Linked DNA regions of Homo sapiens: regions 2 and 3 are each linked to region 1. The links are contacts of gene promoters, found by promoter capture Hi-C in blood cells and fetal thymus (Javierre and others, 2016). All regions are on one chromosome and are shown on one strand. Each heading gives the region's core, a stretch centred on a gene start or on the middle of the fragment in contact. The rest is flanking DNA. Distances are from core to core; before and after follow the strand shown.

Region 1 (5,094 bases), core at 1,733-4,232:
GGTCTCGATCTCTTGACCTTGTGATCTGCCCTCCTCGGCCTCCCAAAGTGCTGGGATTATAGGTGTGAGCCACTGCGCCCGGCCGAGACTCAGTATCTTAAGGCAAAACACAGGCATTTGCTCATGTTCCAACTCCACAGTTCTCTGAATGCGCTGTAGAGCTTTGTAACTCCATCCTGTGTAATGTTTCCTGCTGTCTCTTTCAGTTGGTCTTTGGGAAATATTTTCAGTGACAGAAAGTAAGAAATAAGGAAAAATATCCAAGTCCTTGCTCATATACCTCCCTTGATCTAGGGATACAAATTCAGATTTTTGCGGTGGCAAAGACAATCTTCATTGCAATGACAAGCTTCCAACACATCTTCTAAAACTCCTACAGGGGAGGAGCAAGAATGAGTCTGCAAAGAAGGGCTCAGGGAGGAAGGAGATTGGCGGGAGTTTCTTGCCCAGACTCCCCTGCCCTCTGCTTGGCATACTAGGAGGGAGAGGCCACTCTTGGCATATTGCTGCTTTTTTTTTTTTTCAGCTAAATGTTGGAGACTTTTGTTTTCAAAGTTGAGTTTTTTTTGGATGGCTAAGGATGGAAAAAATGCACATTCCCTTTTTCAGATACTGGTTCATGCCCTGTTTTTGTTTAATTTCTTGGAAACTTGAAGTTGCAGCCTGCGAAGTGGGGAGGCCCTGGGCTGGGGAAGCGAAGCTCTGGAAGGGGCCCAGGTCCCGATTGGGGATCCAGAGAGGCTTCCCTTCATGTGCCTCTAGACGAGGTGTGGGGAACCCGGGGAACAGCCATCCCAGCCAACACAGAGTGCGTGGGGATACTGGAGCCCGGTTTTTCTTCTCCTTTCTTGGGACACTGCCAGGGAATATAACCACAGACACTGCACGAATGAGCACCCAAGTCACAGTTTTTCTAGAAACAAAGGTGTGGTTGGGGCATCCCATTCCATTGCTACCCCAACAAGGGCAGTGTGGCCGGTGGGGCCATCTGGCTTGGGTGTGGGTAGCAGTTTGGAGAGATTTTAGAAGAGGCTCCCTGACAAAGGGTCAGAGAACCCCAGCACTGCACTGAGTTTTCCTGACTGTGAGCTCTCAGACAAACAACAGTGTCACCTCCTGTAAATGGGTGCCCTAACACTGCAAGAAGCTCAAATTCATGTTGTCATTCAGCCAACATGGTTTTTGGCATTATGATGGTTTCTGTGATGCACAGAATAGCACGTAATTGGCTCTGGGTGTGAAGATCACCACGGTCTTAATGGAAGAGAGGGTTGAGCAAAGTGATGATTTAGTCCAATTGCACAGAGTGGATGGTGTGGGCAGGCAGCTGGGAAGAAGTTAAGAGTAGCCTCAAGGCCAGATAGTCCTGATCCCTCCCACTTTCTTCGCCTGACCAGGTGGGTGACCTTGAACAAGTTGCCTAGAATGTCAGATCCTGTTTCCTTATCAGGACAAAGGAGATCGTAACAGTACCAGCCTCACCCCCATTCCTAACCCAGCTGGCTGTGACCTCCTCCCCACCTTCCCCTATGGCATCTTCCCTGGCACCCCTTGACTCATCTCATTGACTCTTGACCTGGTGTCTCCTAGAGTGTAGGAAAAATGCCTGCCTCATCTCTAGGGGCTGGGGCATGGTGCTCATGAAGCCTTTGCCTGGGAATAAATACCCAGATCAGTCTGGGGATGAGAAATGACACTACCTTCCAGAGCACAGCAGGGGTTGTTCAAGTCTTCCAGAAAAGCAGCTCTTGTTTCTCCTCATGTGGTGGGAGTGGAGTCAGAGCGTGGCTCAGGCCCCACATTCTCAGCTGTTTGGATCTGGGGACTCGAAGTTTCTGGTGGTTACTTCTGAAAGTCTTTTCCAGGATAATTATTCTTGCTCGGTTTCTCTGCCATCTCTGACAGGCTGTTTTCCCTGCTTCCCCCGCTGCCCTGAAGGGGCCAGAGGAACAGGGCAGGACCCCAGGGCTGCGGATGGGTTAGGCAGCTCTGTTCCCGAATCCAAAGCAGTTCTTGGTGACTGTCCTCCAAGACTTGCCCTGGACCCTGCTCCGGGTGGGATTCTGAGACCGCCTGCTCCACGTGGCAGATGAAATCTAGGTCTCTTCTGTGAGAGGCTGGCGGGGAGGATGTTTTCCTGGAAAGGACCACAGGACAAACCGCTGATGAAATTTCTCTTGTGACCTCCCTGGAGGAAGAGCACTTCTGATTTCTGCAAACTTTTTCCATTCCCCCGATCTCACAAATGGGGAAACTGAGGCTAAGCGACTGAGTTCAGGGCCATCTGAATCTCAGGGATGGACAGTCAGGATGGACAACCTATAGGCCTTTCCTCCTCTGAGAATCTCTCTGCTCGGGATCGTTTTTCTGGTTTCCCCTGGCTTGCCTAAATTCTGCTCATTTGTCCCGGCGCATTTTAAGAAGTCATGTGACTTCTAAAGACTTCCCTGACCTCCTCCCTTCATTAGCTGGGTATTTCAGGGGCTTCTACGGCACCCTAGGCTTTCCGGAGCGGCTGTGCTCCTTTATGTATGCGCGACTCCCACTAGGCTATGAGCTACAGGAGGGAGGGTAGGTCTTGCTCCCGGAGAGCACCTTAATCACAGGCGCTGAATGAAAGAATGAACTGGTTGTGCAGGAACCAGGATCCGAACCCGCCTCCCCAGGTACTCTAACACCGGCCCGGCGGAACCTGCAAGCCTCCAGACCACTTGGAGCCTGGGCTGCTCAATGGGTCTGATAATTCCAGGTCCTCTCTGCGGCCAGCGAAGGGAGGTCCCAGGGCGCACCTCGGCAGGGCGGGGGACCCCGGTGAAGGGCGCCTGGAGGCGCGCTGCATTGTTAGGGTGATGAGGCCAGGTGACCCGCCAGGCTCGGGGCGCGGGCGCGGGGGCCGGCCGTGGCGATTGCCCGCGCCGCCTCGAGGGGGCCCTGCCGCGGGCGCCGGCAGCCAGCCAGGAGGACGGGCCCGCCCGCGCGCTACTCGGAGCCCAGCCTCGTTGCGGCCATCGCCCTGCCGGACCGCGCCTCAGGCTCCCCCAGGTACTGGGGCCGGGGAAGGAGGAAACGCGGCCACGCGCCGCGGTCCTCTTTGTTTCGGGCCCGGCGCGGGCTTTCGCGCTCCGGGCGCAGGAACGAGGCTTGGGGAGCACAGAGATCTGGAGCTGGGGCGCGGGGACTGAGTTCGGGGAGCGCGGAGACAGAGTTCGGGGAGCGCGGGGTACGGGAGCTCAGGGCGCGGGGATGGGGTCACGGGAGAACCCAGGTTAGGGAGCGCGGGGACCCGGTTGGGGGCGCACGGGCAAGGGGTTTGGTGCGCGCGGGTACGGGGTTTGCGGCGCGTGGGGGGCGGGGGCTCGGCAGGAGTCCCAGGACAGGGGCTGGGGCGCGGGCCAGCTTCGCCGGAGTCCGGGGACGGGGGCGCTGACTGGCTGGGTTTGGGGACTGGCTGGGGCGCAGGACCACTCGAGTGGGACCCGTGGCGCCCGGGCGCCCTGGACTGAGGGCAGAGACCGGAGCAGCTATGTCGCAGTCGCTGTCGGGACCGAGCGGACTTTGCTCCCTAGGACTCCGTCTCGAGACTCCAGGTGGAGAGCGCAGCTAGGGGCTTCAATGGGCAGGCTCAAGACCCTTCTCCTACTTTTTCTAGGCAAGCTCTCCAGTGCGTCTCTTTCCCTTTCCCTTTGGTGGGTGGGAGGCAGGGGGTCTTTACGCGCTTCCTTTTTTTCCCTGAAGGACGGGACCTCGGGGTGGGGGGATATTCTGGGGTGGGGGGTGCTGTCCCAGGCTGGGGGCCAGCTGTGTGGCATGTGCCTCCTGGCACGCGGGAGCTGTCGCTGACAAGCAGGAGGAGGGAGGGTCCCGGACGGCCCAGGGGTCTCTGTGTCGGTGCTGTGCAGCGGCCTGACATGTGAGTCCCGGGTCCTTTGCTTGGAGTGATTTGAGTGTCTGTGGCGGGAAGAGATTCAGGCGTTCCTCAGGCATTCTCCAGACAGTGTCAGCAGATGACCCGAACTCCAGCGTGGTTGAAAAACTCAAAGCGCCATCAGGGTGTGGGGCCAGCAGAGAGCACTACTGAGGGTGGTCACAACCCCCTGGGAAGCCCCCAGGCTTCCTTGGGGCGCATTCACACACTTTGATCTTCCGGGTTGGCTTTCCCCCCATTTTTTTCACTATTTGAATGCATGATCATGGAGGACTCTGAAAATATACTGAAAAGTATGAATGCAGAACTCATTGTATTAATATTGCATGGCCCTTCTGAACTAACCAACCCTTTGACATTTTAGATTTTCTTGAGGCTTTGGTCTGTGCATATTAATTTTTTAAATTGCTTTCATGCTTTCCCTTTTGAATGAGGTTTACTTGTTCTGGTGATTCTGGTTCTTCTCTCTTTGGGGCCTGTGAGGTTATATTTGCAAATCAATCAACAAGTATTAAGAAAGGCTTTTCTGTGCTGAGGCCTTGAGGGCCAGGGAGGGGGTGGGGAGTCGCTGCAGCTGGAGGGTGGAGGGGCAAGGCCATTACACAGAGATGGAGGTGCACTGGGTCCTGGTGGGGGTGTGGTAGCACAGGGGGTGGGGGGTGTGTACACAGGGAATTGACAGGAGGAACTGGCAGCAAGCCCGACTCCTGACCTTAGGAATAGTAATGGTGACCCCGAAGACAAAGTAACAGGCATACCGATTGAGTGTTTGCCTGTGCTAAATGCTTTGCATGCATTCATTTCATTTCACCCAAATTACATTCCTTGGAGGGAGTTGGGATTATGATTACCCCATTTTACAGACGAGTAAACTGAGGCAAAGGAAGGCTAAGTAACTTGGCCGAGATGAAATGAAACATGGTGGTAGTGCAGCCTGGGATTCTGGGACAGGACTCTAGGGTCCCAGACCCCTGTTCCTGGCTGCTGCTGCGCGTCTGTCGACTGAATTCTAATGCATGTCCAGACAGCGATTCCTCAGCTGAGGCTGCCATAGCTATCAGCAGCTCAGCTGAATTATGTCTTTAAAAAACTACCAAGATAGAAAAACTAGTAGCCCCAGGGCACTACTTATTCCTGAATGCAAATTGATTTTTTTTTTTTTAACAAAG
Region 2 (5,094 bases), core at 1,814-4,313, 160 kb before region 1:
TTAATCTCTTACTGTGCCTAGTTGATAAATTAAGCTTTACCATAGGTGTGTATGTAGGAAAAAACATAGTTTGTATGGGGGTTGGTGCTAGCCACAGTTTCAGGCATCCAGTGTGGTTCCTGGAAGTTATGCTGCTCAGGTGAGGGGGGACTATTGTACAAAGCATTTACATGGAGACTGAAAGAAAACAGAGCAGAATGGCAATAGCGTCATGGTCATATTTTGATCCTTGAGCATATTTAATGTTTTGTTCTGTCTAACTTGGCATTTCTTTTTTTTAATGAAAATGTCTTCCAGGTTCATCCATGTTGTTGCAAATGACAAGATCTCCTTTTGAAAGCTGAATGATATTCCATTGTGTGTGTGTGTACACATTAGTACATTTTCATTTCTGTACAACGGCCTCTGAGCAGCCTCCAGGCCCCCTCTGCAGAGGAGGGGCTTATAAACACAAGTAGAAAATAAATAAACTGTCTGCTGAGTAACGCTTATGCCGCTTCCACATAGTAAGGCTTCCGTTCTTATGATCGTGTGCCCGGGACTTGGGCCACCTGCATTAAGTCCCAGAGGCACAGGGACCCTGTACCCACAGCTGCGGATGATTAACTGGGGGCGGGGGGCAGGGGCTGGACTTTTGAGTCCAGCTGTTTAGTTCCCTGTCAAGCCACAGATGAGATTTAGAAGTAAAATAAGTAAATAAAATTAATAAACATAAAAACGCAGCCCTCCTGGTTGATGTTCCCAGGAGCCACCATGTATCAAAGCCGCACAGCCAGTCTCCCAAAGTGACCATCCTCTCGTCCTCTCATTGCGCTAAGGAGCCGGTTCTTTTGTGTTGCATAAGAAAGCCATAGAGAAAATAAGGAGCCCTCCTGCTGAGGGAACACTGCAGAGAAAGAACTGGAGGCAGAGAAGCCCCAGCAACAAGGAAAAGATCCTCAAGGCTCAGGGCAGGCAAGCTTCAAGGGGAGGCCAGCGTGGGTCAGAGCGAGAGGCAAGGAGGACACCACATCAGGCCTGGGCCAGTCCACCCAGGCTGTGTTTAGTTCAGTGAAAGTCTCCATACCAGAGGGCTTCCCGTCCCCACTGTGGCCCAGGTCAGGACATCGGGAGAATGCCACTCTTCAGCCCTCAGCCTCCCTTGGGCATCACCTGGGGATACAGAGGCACCTGATGGGGCCTGTTCCCTGAAACTTTGAGGAATAAGAAGTGTGTTCCTCCCAAAAATACTGTGTATGCTCTGTGCCAGACATTTACCATGCTGGGGAACATCTGGGAACTGAAACTGACGAGAATCCCTGTCCTTGTGGGGCAACAGCCATCATCACAGGAGGTAAATGCTGCATCATCTTAGGAGGTGGGAATTGCTATGGAAAAATGAAAAATTAGAGGAAGGCAAAAGGGACCAGGAGTGTGGTGTGGGCTAGTGGAAAGCAAGTGTCAGCATCAAATAAGTTGCTCCAGAGAGGCCTCTGCAGATGGTGTCATTTGAGCAGAGACCTGAGGGGGCTGGGAGAGCAGACTAGGCTGGGGCTATGGGGCAATGTCTCAGGCCCACAGGATGACCTGCAAAGGCCCGAGGACCTGAGGTCAAAGGCCAGCCAAGGCCAGGCTGCTGGAGGCAAGGGCAAGTGAGAAGGGGCAGCAGGTGGGGGAGGGTCTGGTGGAGGGACTCAGGCTCTGTCCGTGTGGGCTCTGCAAAGAGCTCTCCGCTGCTTGTTGAAGGCAGAGGCAGAGACCCTGAGGAGGCTGTTGCCTCCTCACACTCAGGTGTGAATGTGGCTTGTGGCTTAGGCCCACAAGAAGGGTGGGGCAGTCCCCAGAAATGTCCAAGTCACTCACTACGGTCACACATCGTATAGCATACAAGTCAGATTCTATTTAGAAGTTTAACAACTCAGCCACTGATGTGATTATTGTTCAGTCTTTGGTTTGTGAGGCTCATGGAGCCGGTTTCTTGTTAAACACTTTACAAAAGGTGGAGCCACATACAGGAGCCATAAGACACCACAGAGGGGGAAACTCAGGGCACCTTTGATCCAACTGCTCATTTTACAGACAAGGAAAGTACGACTCTGGGAGATGGCATGGTTTCCTAAAGCCAGGCCGTGATTCTCGTGCTTGAATTTGCACAAATGCCACCTGGGGCTTTTGGTAAAATGAAGATTAGAATTCAGCAAGTCTGGCATGGACCTAAAGTTGTGGACTTTCTAACCAGCTCTCCAGAGATGCTAAGGCTGCTGGTCCGGGGACCACACTTTGAGCAGCCACAGTCTGGACTGGATGGGAGGCTGCAGTGAGAGCCTGGGGAAGTGTGGTTTAACATTTTGAATCAGGAAAGCTATGGGCTGTAGGATGCAGACACCAGTCTTGCTACACACCTGAAGATGAGGGTCTGAAACCAGGGAGGGCGAAGGCTGTGAAGCCCAAGTGAAAGATGGACCAGCCCCCACATAATTGAGGCAACTTGCAGCATATGTGAAACGCTAGGAACATCATCATGGGACCGGAGGACAGGTGTGGCCTAAAAGGTTCCTCACATGGTCTCAGACAGGGCAGGGGATGGGAGATACTCAACATCCATACCCTTAGCCTGTGGCTCAGGACCCGGAAATTGGAACAAGCTGGGCCACTGTGAACAGCTCAAGACTGAACATTAAAAAGGCTCCGCTGGTTCTGTGTTTCCCACGAGAGAAGGGCAACATGAGCTGAAGGCAGATGCCCTTGTGTCCCTGTTGCCACTGTCTGCCCTGCAACAATGAAAGAATGTCAGCTGTGCTTTTGGCAGACCCCAAAGCCCAGCCTGGAGCATTTAAGTTGCACAACGGTCCTGCTTTGTCAGATTGTGACTGAGGCAGAGGAATGGTTCCCTCCCTCTGGGCTTGTACAAAGAGGGAAAGGATGGAGGTGGGAGCTGAAGCCTCCCTCCAGGTCAGGACCTGAGCACTGGCTGCAGGGAAGTCTGTCCTGCTGCCAGCTGTTCAGACATGGAGGCCCCTCTGTGGGTCCCAGTTTGCTCCCCTCACTTGCTCCCCACATCCCTTCTCACAGTTGGCACCCCAGGCGGACAGCCCTTGGTCAGATGGGCCTTGTTGGGGACTAATTATTTTAAATGGCTAAAGTGAAGGAGTGAATGAGGAGTAAGGAGAAATTGAGGGGAATCCCCACAACATCTCTGCAATCTGCAGAATAATGACCCCCAAAGATGTCCATGTCCTGGGCCCTAGAACATGTGGGTACGGCACCTTACATGGCAAAGGGGACATTGTAGATGGGATTAAATTAAGGGTCTTGAAGTAGATTGTCCTGGATTGTGGGGCTGGGCCCAATGTCATCACAGGATCCTTATAAGAGGGAGGCTCAGAGTCAGAGTGGGAGATGTCACAATGGAAGCGGAGGTCAGAGAACAGAGGGAGAGGGATGTGAAGATGCCGTGCAGCTTGCTTTGAGGATGCGCGAAGGAGACACAACCCAAAGAATGTGGATGGCCTCTAGAAGCCGGACAATGCTGGGCAATGGATTCTTTTTTAGAGCCTCAGAAGGAGCACAGCCCTGGGGGCCTTTCTCATCTCCAGAACCCTAAGACAATGCAGTTGAGCCGTCTTAAGCTACTAAATTTGTGTTCCTTTGTTATAGCAACAATAGGAAACAAATAGAATGTCATGATTTTCTAGGATGAGGCCAAGATCATGAGGACTCAGCTATGGCGGGTAGGGGGCTTTGAAACTTGATGCTTCCCCAGTCCAGGGCATGTTCTCAGCAGCCCAGCAGCCAACTCGCTGATTCGTAGAGAGCCCTAATTCCTGCAGGCATTCATTTGTCTCGTTTAAGAGAAACGCATCTCTCTCTCCTGAACCCTATCAACCCTCAGAAAACAGTCTATTAGAAATATGAGACATCAGCCGGGCGCGGTAGCTCATTCCTGTAATCCCAGCACTCTGGGAGGCCAAAGCGGGTGGATCACAAGGTTAGGGGTTCAAGAACAGCCTGGCCGAGATGGTGAAACCCCATCTGTACTAAAAATACAAAAATTAGCCAGGCATGGTGGCGGGCACCTGTAATCCCAGCTACTCTGGAGGCTGAGGCAGAGAACCCAGGATGTGGAGGTTGCAGTGAGCCAGCTGAGATCACACCAGTGCACTCCAGCCTGGGCGACAGAGTGAGACTCCGTGAAAGAAAGGAAGGAAGGAAGGAAGGAAAAGAAAGAAAGAAAGCAGGGAGGGAGGGAAGGAGGGAGGGAAAGGGAGGGAGGGAGGGAGGGAAAGAAAGAAAGAAGGAAAGAAGGAAGGAAGGGAGGGAGGGAGGGAGGAAGGAAGGAAAGAAAGAAAGAAGGAGGGAGGGAGGGAAGAGAGGGAGGGAGGGAGGGTGGAAAGAAAGAGAGAGAGGGAGGGAGGGGAGAGAGAGAGGGAGGGAGGGAGGAAAGAGAGAGAAAAAGAAAGAAAGAAAGAAGGGAGGGAGGGAGGAAGGAAAAGAAAGAAAAGAAAGAAGAAAGAAAGAGAAAGAAAGAAAAAGAAAGAGAGAAAGAAAGGAAGAAAGAAAGAGAAAGAAAGAAAGAGACATCTTGGCAGTGGAAGGCAGTGGCCACGCCTTCCTGCTTGAAGTCTGGGCAACCCTCTGTGTCCATCCTGGAGAAAGGAGCCCTTGAGACCAGCATATTCTTAATGTGTTGCCTGCTCATGGTGAGAAGATATTCAGGAAAAAGAAGCTCACGCCTTTGTTTCCCCTCCACTCTTCACTCTCCCATCCAGAGAAGACACGCTCTGTAGGTTAGAGCGGGCAAGCATGGGATCCCACAGCGTAAGGATGAAAGTGCTCTGTTGGAATTAAGCACAGAGGAGTACACATTGTGGAAGCCACTAAATATAAGTGACACAAGTAACCAAGACTGCTGGCTGCCCTTCCTGTCTACTCTCCCTTTTCCCTTGGGAACAGAATTGCAGTTCTAAGTGGAAATACAGACCCGCATCCCATACACCCAGGTACTTGCATGCCACTCAGTCTGACAAATGACACATAAGTGGAGTTTGTTAGGCAAGATTTCTGCAATAGCTCCTTAAGAGATGGACAGAGCTCCAACCCAGGCCCCCTTAAACC
Region 3 (5,094 bases), core at 1,856-4,355, 130 kb before region 1:
TGTTAGCCAGGATGGTCTCGATCTCCTGACCCCGTGATCCGCCCGCCTCAGCCTCCCAAAGTGCTGGGATTACAGGCATGAGCCACCACGCCCGGTCTGTGTGAACATGTTTTTAATTCACTTGGGTATATAACCTAGGGGCAGAGTTGTTAGGCTGTAGGGTAATTATATGCTTAACTTCCAGACTGTTTCCACAGTGGTTATACAATTTTACATTCCCACCAGCCTTGTAGGAGTGCTCCAATTTCTCTTCTTCCTCACTGACACTTATTGTTGTCTGTCATTCTGATTACAGCCATCCTGTGAATGTGAAATGGTATTTCATTGTGGTACTGATTTAATTCTCTTAAAGACTAGGGATGTTGAGTATCTTTTCGTGTGTTTAGTGGCCATTTGTGTATCTTATTTGGAGGCATGTCTATTCAGTTTGTATATTTTTAATTAGGTTATTCGTCCTTTTATTGTTGAGTTGTATGAGTTCTTTTTATATTCTGAATACTGAAATTATCTATTATTCTTTGGTTGTTTGTGCTTTTGGTGTCATATCTGAGAAACCACTGTTAAATCCAAGGTCAGGAAGATTCAGTCCTATGTTTTGTTGTAAGAGATTTATAGCTTTAGCTCTTACGTGTAGGTCATTGATCCATTTTTGAGTAGATTTTTGTATATGGTGTGAGGTTTGAGTCTAGCTTCACTGTTTTGCATGTGGATTTCAGTTGTCCTAGAGCCATTTGTTGAGAAAAAAAGAGTTGTCTTTGTGCTCTAATTTAAAATCAACTTCCCATAGATATACAGATTTATTTCTGGCCCAGACACTGTTCTAATTGCTTTTGCCTTGTAGAGTAATTGTGATGATTAAATAAAGGGAGAGAAAATATTTTGCCCACTTCAATACTTATCCCCTACACATATGACAAACTGTGAATAGTTGCAAGGATTTTTTTCACTTTTACAAAGCTTGATATTTGTTTTGTTTTGTTTTGTTTTTGTTTTTTAATATGGAGTCTCGCCCTGTCGCCCAGGCTGGAGTGCAATGGAGCAATCTCCTCTCACTGCAATCTCCGCCTCTTGGGTTCAAGCGATTCTCCTGCCTCAGCCTCCCGAGTAGCTGGGATTACAGGTGCACGCCACCATGCCTGGCTAATTTTTGGTATCTTTAGTAGAGACCGGGTCTCACCATGTTAACCAGGCTGGTCTCAAACTCCTGACATCATGATCCACCTGCCTCAGCCTCCCAAAGTGCTGGGATTACAGGCATGAGCCACTGCACCAAACCCCGATATTTCTTACTTTCTATTTTAATTCGGAATAATATTTGGCATTCTTCCAGGATGGATTTTAATGGCTTATGTATTAGGAATCATCAATAGACAATAAATTTATTTATTAAGTGCTATTAGGTCATTAGGTTAAAAAAATAAATAGGGCCAGGAGCGGTGGCTCACGTCTGTAATCCCAGCACTTTGGGAGGCCGAGGCAGGCAGATCATCTGAGGTCAGGAGTTCAAGACCAGCCTGGCCAACATGGCGAAACCCCGGCTCTACTAAAAATACAAAAATTAGCCGGACTTCGTGTCAGGTGCCTGTAATCCCAGTTACTTATGAGGCTGAGGCAGGAGAATCGTTTGAACTCGGGAGGCAGAGGTTGCAGTGAGCCCAGATCGCACCATTGCACTCCAGCAAGAGAGAAACTCCATCTCAAAAAAATAAATAAATAAAAATTTAAAAATATATAAATAAATAGACCTTTAACAAGTTAAATGTAAATAATTTAGTCCAACTAAATTATTAATGGATAAAGATCCCATCAAAAAAGAGACGCTTTACTTTTTCCACACAGAGTAATGATTGGAATTCTCTCCCCTTTTTCGGGTTAGACATCTGAGACATGAAAATTAAAGGACAGGCCTAGATCCAGCTGGAGAGCCGGGCACCAAGTCAGAGCCCTTTGCACCAAGTCCAGGGTCCTTGTGTTTCATGCATGCAAGCCCTGCCTTCTTGTTTACAGATGGGAAGCCCAGCGAGTCCTTCTTTAGCAGGGGTGACAATGTTGTACATTAATCTGTAACACCAGGGACATTAGGCCCCCATGTATGATTGTTAGGCAGAGACAAAATAGGTGGGGTCTCCCTAACAGAGCATGCTGAGGAAAGGACTTAGGCATGGGATGAGAGGAGGTGCCAATGGTTTCTTAGTTGAACATATGATCAAGCACTTTCCAGAAGTATATGTTGACATGTAACCTGCCCTGCCCCACGCAGGGCCTTCATGGGTCAAAATGGCTACCCGCGGGTCACAACCAATGACCTCTGGTTACTTCACAATTGTCATGTGCCTACTTGGGTTGGGGTGGGGGTGTCGCACTGTGGTGGTCCACAAAAAATGAATGGAAAAGATTAGGCCTTTCTGTAGCAAAGGAAGCTTACTTTAAGTAAAGACTGAGATTGCATCTGCTGTGATCATATTGGATGTTGGTCTGCATGGCTGGAAGGAAAGAAACCTGAAAGAGAAACTATGCAAATGACAACCATCCAAGACCACAGCATCTCCCCCACAGTCAATCCTTGTGTTCAAAGGACAGTTGTGTTTTCAGCACCCAATGGAACTTCCTCAAATTGCCGAGAAAGTTTTGATGGTTATTGCTGCTGTTTTATGAGGATTTATTCAATATTTCCTACATGTGATACTTACTAATTATATATTCAATATCTCCTACAAACCATACTTACGAATTATTTCTAATTCTTGCAAGAACTCTAGAGTTTAGGTATTATTTCTCATTTTACAGTTGAGAGAACTGAGACTCAGAGAAGGCGTGCCAGTGTCACTGAGATTTTAGGAGATAGGACAGAAACAGAACCTGTCTATCAAAGCACAGATGTTTTCACCCTCCGTACTGTGGGTGCTTACCTCATATTTTGACTAAAATGTTTTATTTGGTTTATTTAGCTTCTGAAATTTGTATTCCTCACACCTGTCTTTATGTGCCTGGGGGGGAAATCTTAAGCATTGGAACCAACATCCCAGTGATCAGAGAGCAGAAAGAATTCATGGCTTCCTCCCCAGTGGCCCAGGTAGGGCTGACCCGGAACTCTGCTCAGAGCATGGATGTCTCAGTTGCTCTGTGTGCAGCTGCCTTGTGTGGAGTGAGCTGATCAGGAGGAATTTCTTCAGGGGAATATAAAACTCTTTGCAATCAGGATTTTCAGGGCTAGCTTCAGGCTCCTGACTTCTGAGTAACTAGGTCAAGGCTATTTCAAAATTAGCAGAATGGTACTCATCTTCACTATTGGTATCTAACACTGACCTAGAAATAGCAAGTGATTCAGTACGATAAGAAGATGAAAGAAAAATACTGGAAGTGAGGGGGTAAACTATTAGTTTATTACTTCCAGATAAACTAATTAAAATTATTACAAACTAATTATTTAAAACTAATTTAAAATATCTACACAAAATCTTAAGAGATGCTGGGCGCAGTGGCTCACGCCTGTAATCCCCGCATTTTGGGAGGCCTAGGCAGGTGGATCACGAGGTCAGGAGATTGAGACCATCCTGGCTAACACAGTAAAACCCTGTCTCTACTAAAAATACAAAAAAATTAGCCAAGCGTGGTGGCGGGCGCTTGTAGTCTCAGCTACTCGGGAGGCTGAGGCAGGAGCACGGCGTGAAACCGGGAGGTAGAGCTTGCAATGACCTGAGATCATGTCACTACACTCCAGCCTGGGCAACAGAGCGAGACTCCATCTCAAAAAAAAAAAAAAAAATCAAGAGAATCAAGTAAAGCTTAATTGATGAAATAAGAGAATTCAGAGTGTGGTCGGTTATAATATAAATATTTAGAAATCAAAAGCTTTTTCAATATTAGCAAGAGAATATCATTTTTAATAAGTATTCTACTCACAACAGCAAAAAAAATCTGAAATATCTAGGATTAAATTTAAGATTTACAGAAGGCTATAAAGAGAATAACTTGATGAATAGAGTGATATCATAATTCAGGATTCAAAGCTCAGTACCACAAAAGAGGCCAGGTAGTAAATATTTTTCAGCTTTAGGAGCCACATGGCCTCTGTTCCAGCTGCTCGATTCTGCTGTGATTGTGTGAAAACAAAACATAAACGAGCCACCAAACGTGGCTGTGTTTTAATAAAACTTTATTCACTAAAACAGCCGGAAGGCCAGTTTGGCCTGTGGGACATAGTTTGCCAACCCCTACTACAGGTGATTGTCTTCTTCCTCAAGCATAAAATACTACAAGGAGAATTATGCTGCTTCTAAAGTGTTCCCTCTTTTGAAATATTTCCTTAGGATAGACTCTTAGAATTTTGATTCCTGGCCAGGCGCGGTGCCTCACGCCTGTAATCTCAGCACTTTGGGAGGCCGAGGAGGGCGGATCACAAGGTCAGGAGATCGAGATCATCCTGGCTAACACGGTGAAACTCTGTCTCTACTAAAAATACAAAAAAAAAAAATTAGCCAAGCGTGGTAGCGGGTGCCTGTAGTCCCAGCTACTCAGGAGGCTGAGGCAGGAGAATGACATGAACCCAGGAGGCGGAGCTTGCAGTGAGCTGAGATCCCGCCACTGCACTCCAGCTTGGGTGACAGAGCGAGACTCCGTCTCAAAAAAAAAAAAAAGAATTTTGATTCCTGGGCCAGGGAAAATAAAATATAGTTTGGGACAGATATTGCCACATGCATTCTAAAATGCCTCCTACAAATTGCAGTGTGAGCAACTCATGAGGATAACTACTTCACACTACCACCAGTATTAGATGAGTTATTTTAAGATTGTTAAATTAATCTTTTTAAGTGTTTCAAATAGAACTTCTGTGATCGCTGTTGACGGGGAAATTTTTTCTTTCTTTTTGGATTTTTTGGAATTATCAGGTTACCTACTTTGTACCCGTACCCCTTGAAGTTGAAGTGGAAGCGTTTTTAAAATAAAACGTCCCATGGGCTATTGACAATATACGATGTATCATCTACTTTGGGGCTCCTAAACCTCAAATATTTTAGTTCTTGTGCATTTAAAGATGACCTTTTTATGTTTACTTTAAGGAATTTCCTTTGAAGGTTTTAATTTAGCCAAGAT

What was found. The method cuts DNA at HindIII sites, captures the fragments that hold promoters and counts their contacts. A CHiCAGO score of 5 or more calls a contact.
Region 2: a fragment that was not itself captured here is called in contact with the fragment with the promoter of TNS3 in region 1 in 6 of 17 cell types (total B cells, naive B cells, M0 macrophages and 3 more); the score reaches 32.9 in total B cells.
Region 3: a fragment that was not itself captured here is called in contact with the fragment with the promoter of TNS3 in region 1 in 7 of 17 cell types (total B cells, naive B cells, M1 macrophages and 4 more); the score reaches 34.4 in total B cells.

Annotation. Positions count from the first base shown.
Region 1 is chr7:47,579,999-47,585,092 of GRCh38, reverse strand. TNS3 (tensin 3) reads left to right here and starts at 2,982. Exons shown (of 31, transcript NM_022748.12): 1 at 2,982-3,042. RefSeq lists enhancers at 2,571-3,108, 3,109-3,646. The HindIII fragment of the contact is 9,706 bases long and covers 352-5,094 here.
Region 2 is chr7:47,735,479-47,740,572 of GRCh38, reverse strand. No RefSeq gene overlaps it. Among named protein-coding and RNA genes, the nearest start is that of LINC00525, 23 kb to the left of the region's middle. RefSeq lists an enhancer at 530-1,184. The HindIII fragment of the contact is 4,204 bases long and covers 962-5,094 here.
Region 3 is chr7:47,712,857-47,717,950 of GRCh38, reverse strand. No RefSeq gene overlaps it. Among named protein-coding and RNA genes, the nearest start is that of LINC00525, 46 kb to the left of the region's middle. RefSeq lists enhancers at 1,826-2,120, 2,673-2,752 and a silencer at 1,826-2,120. The HindIII fragment of the contact is 1,365 bases long and covers 2,423-3,787 here.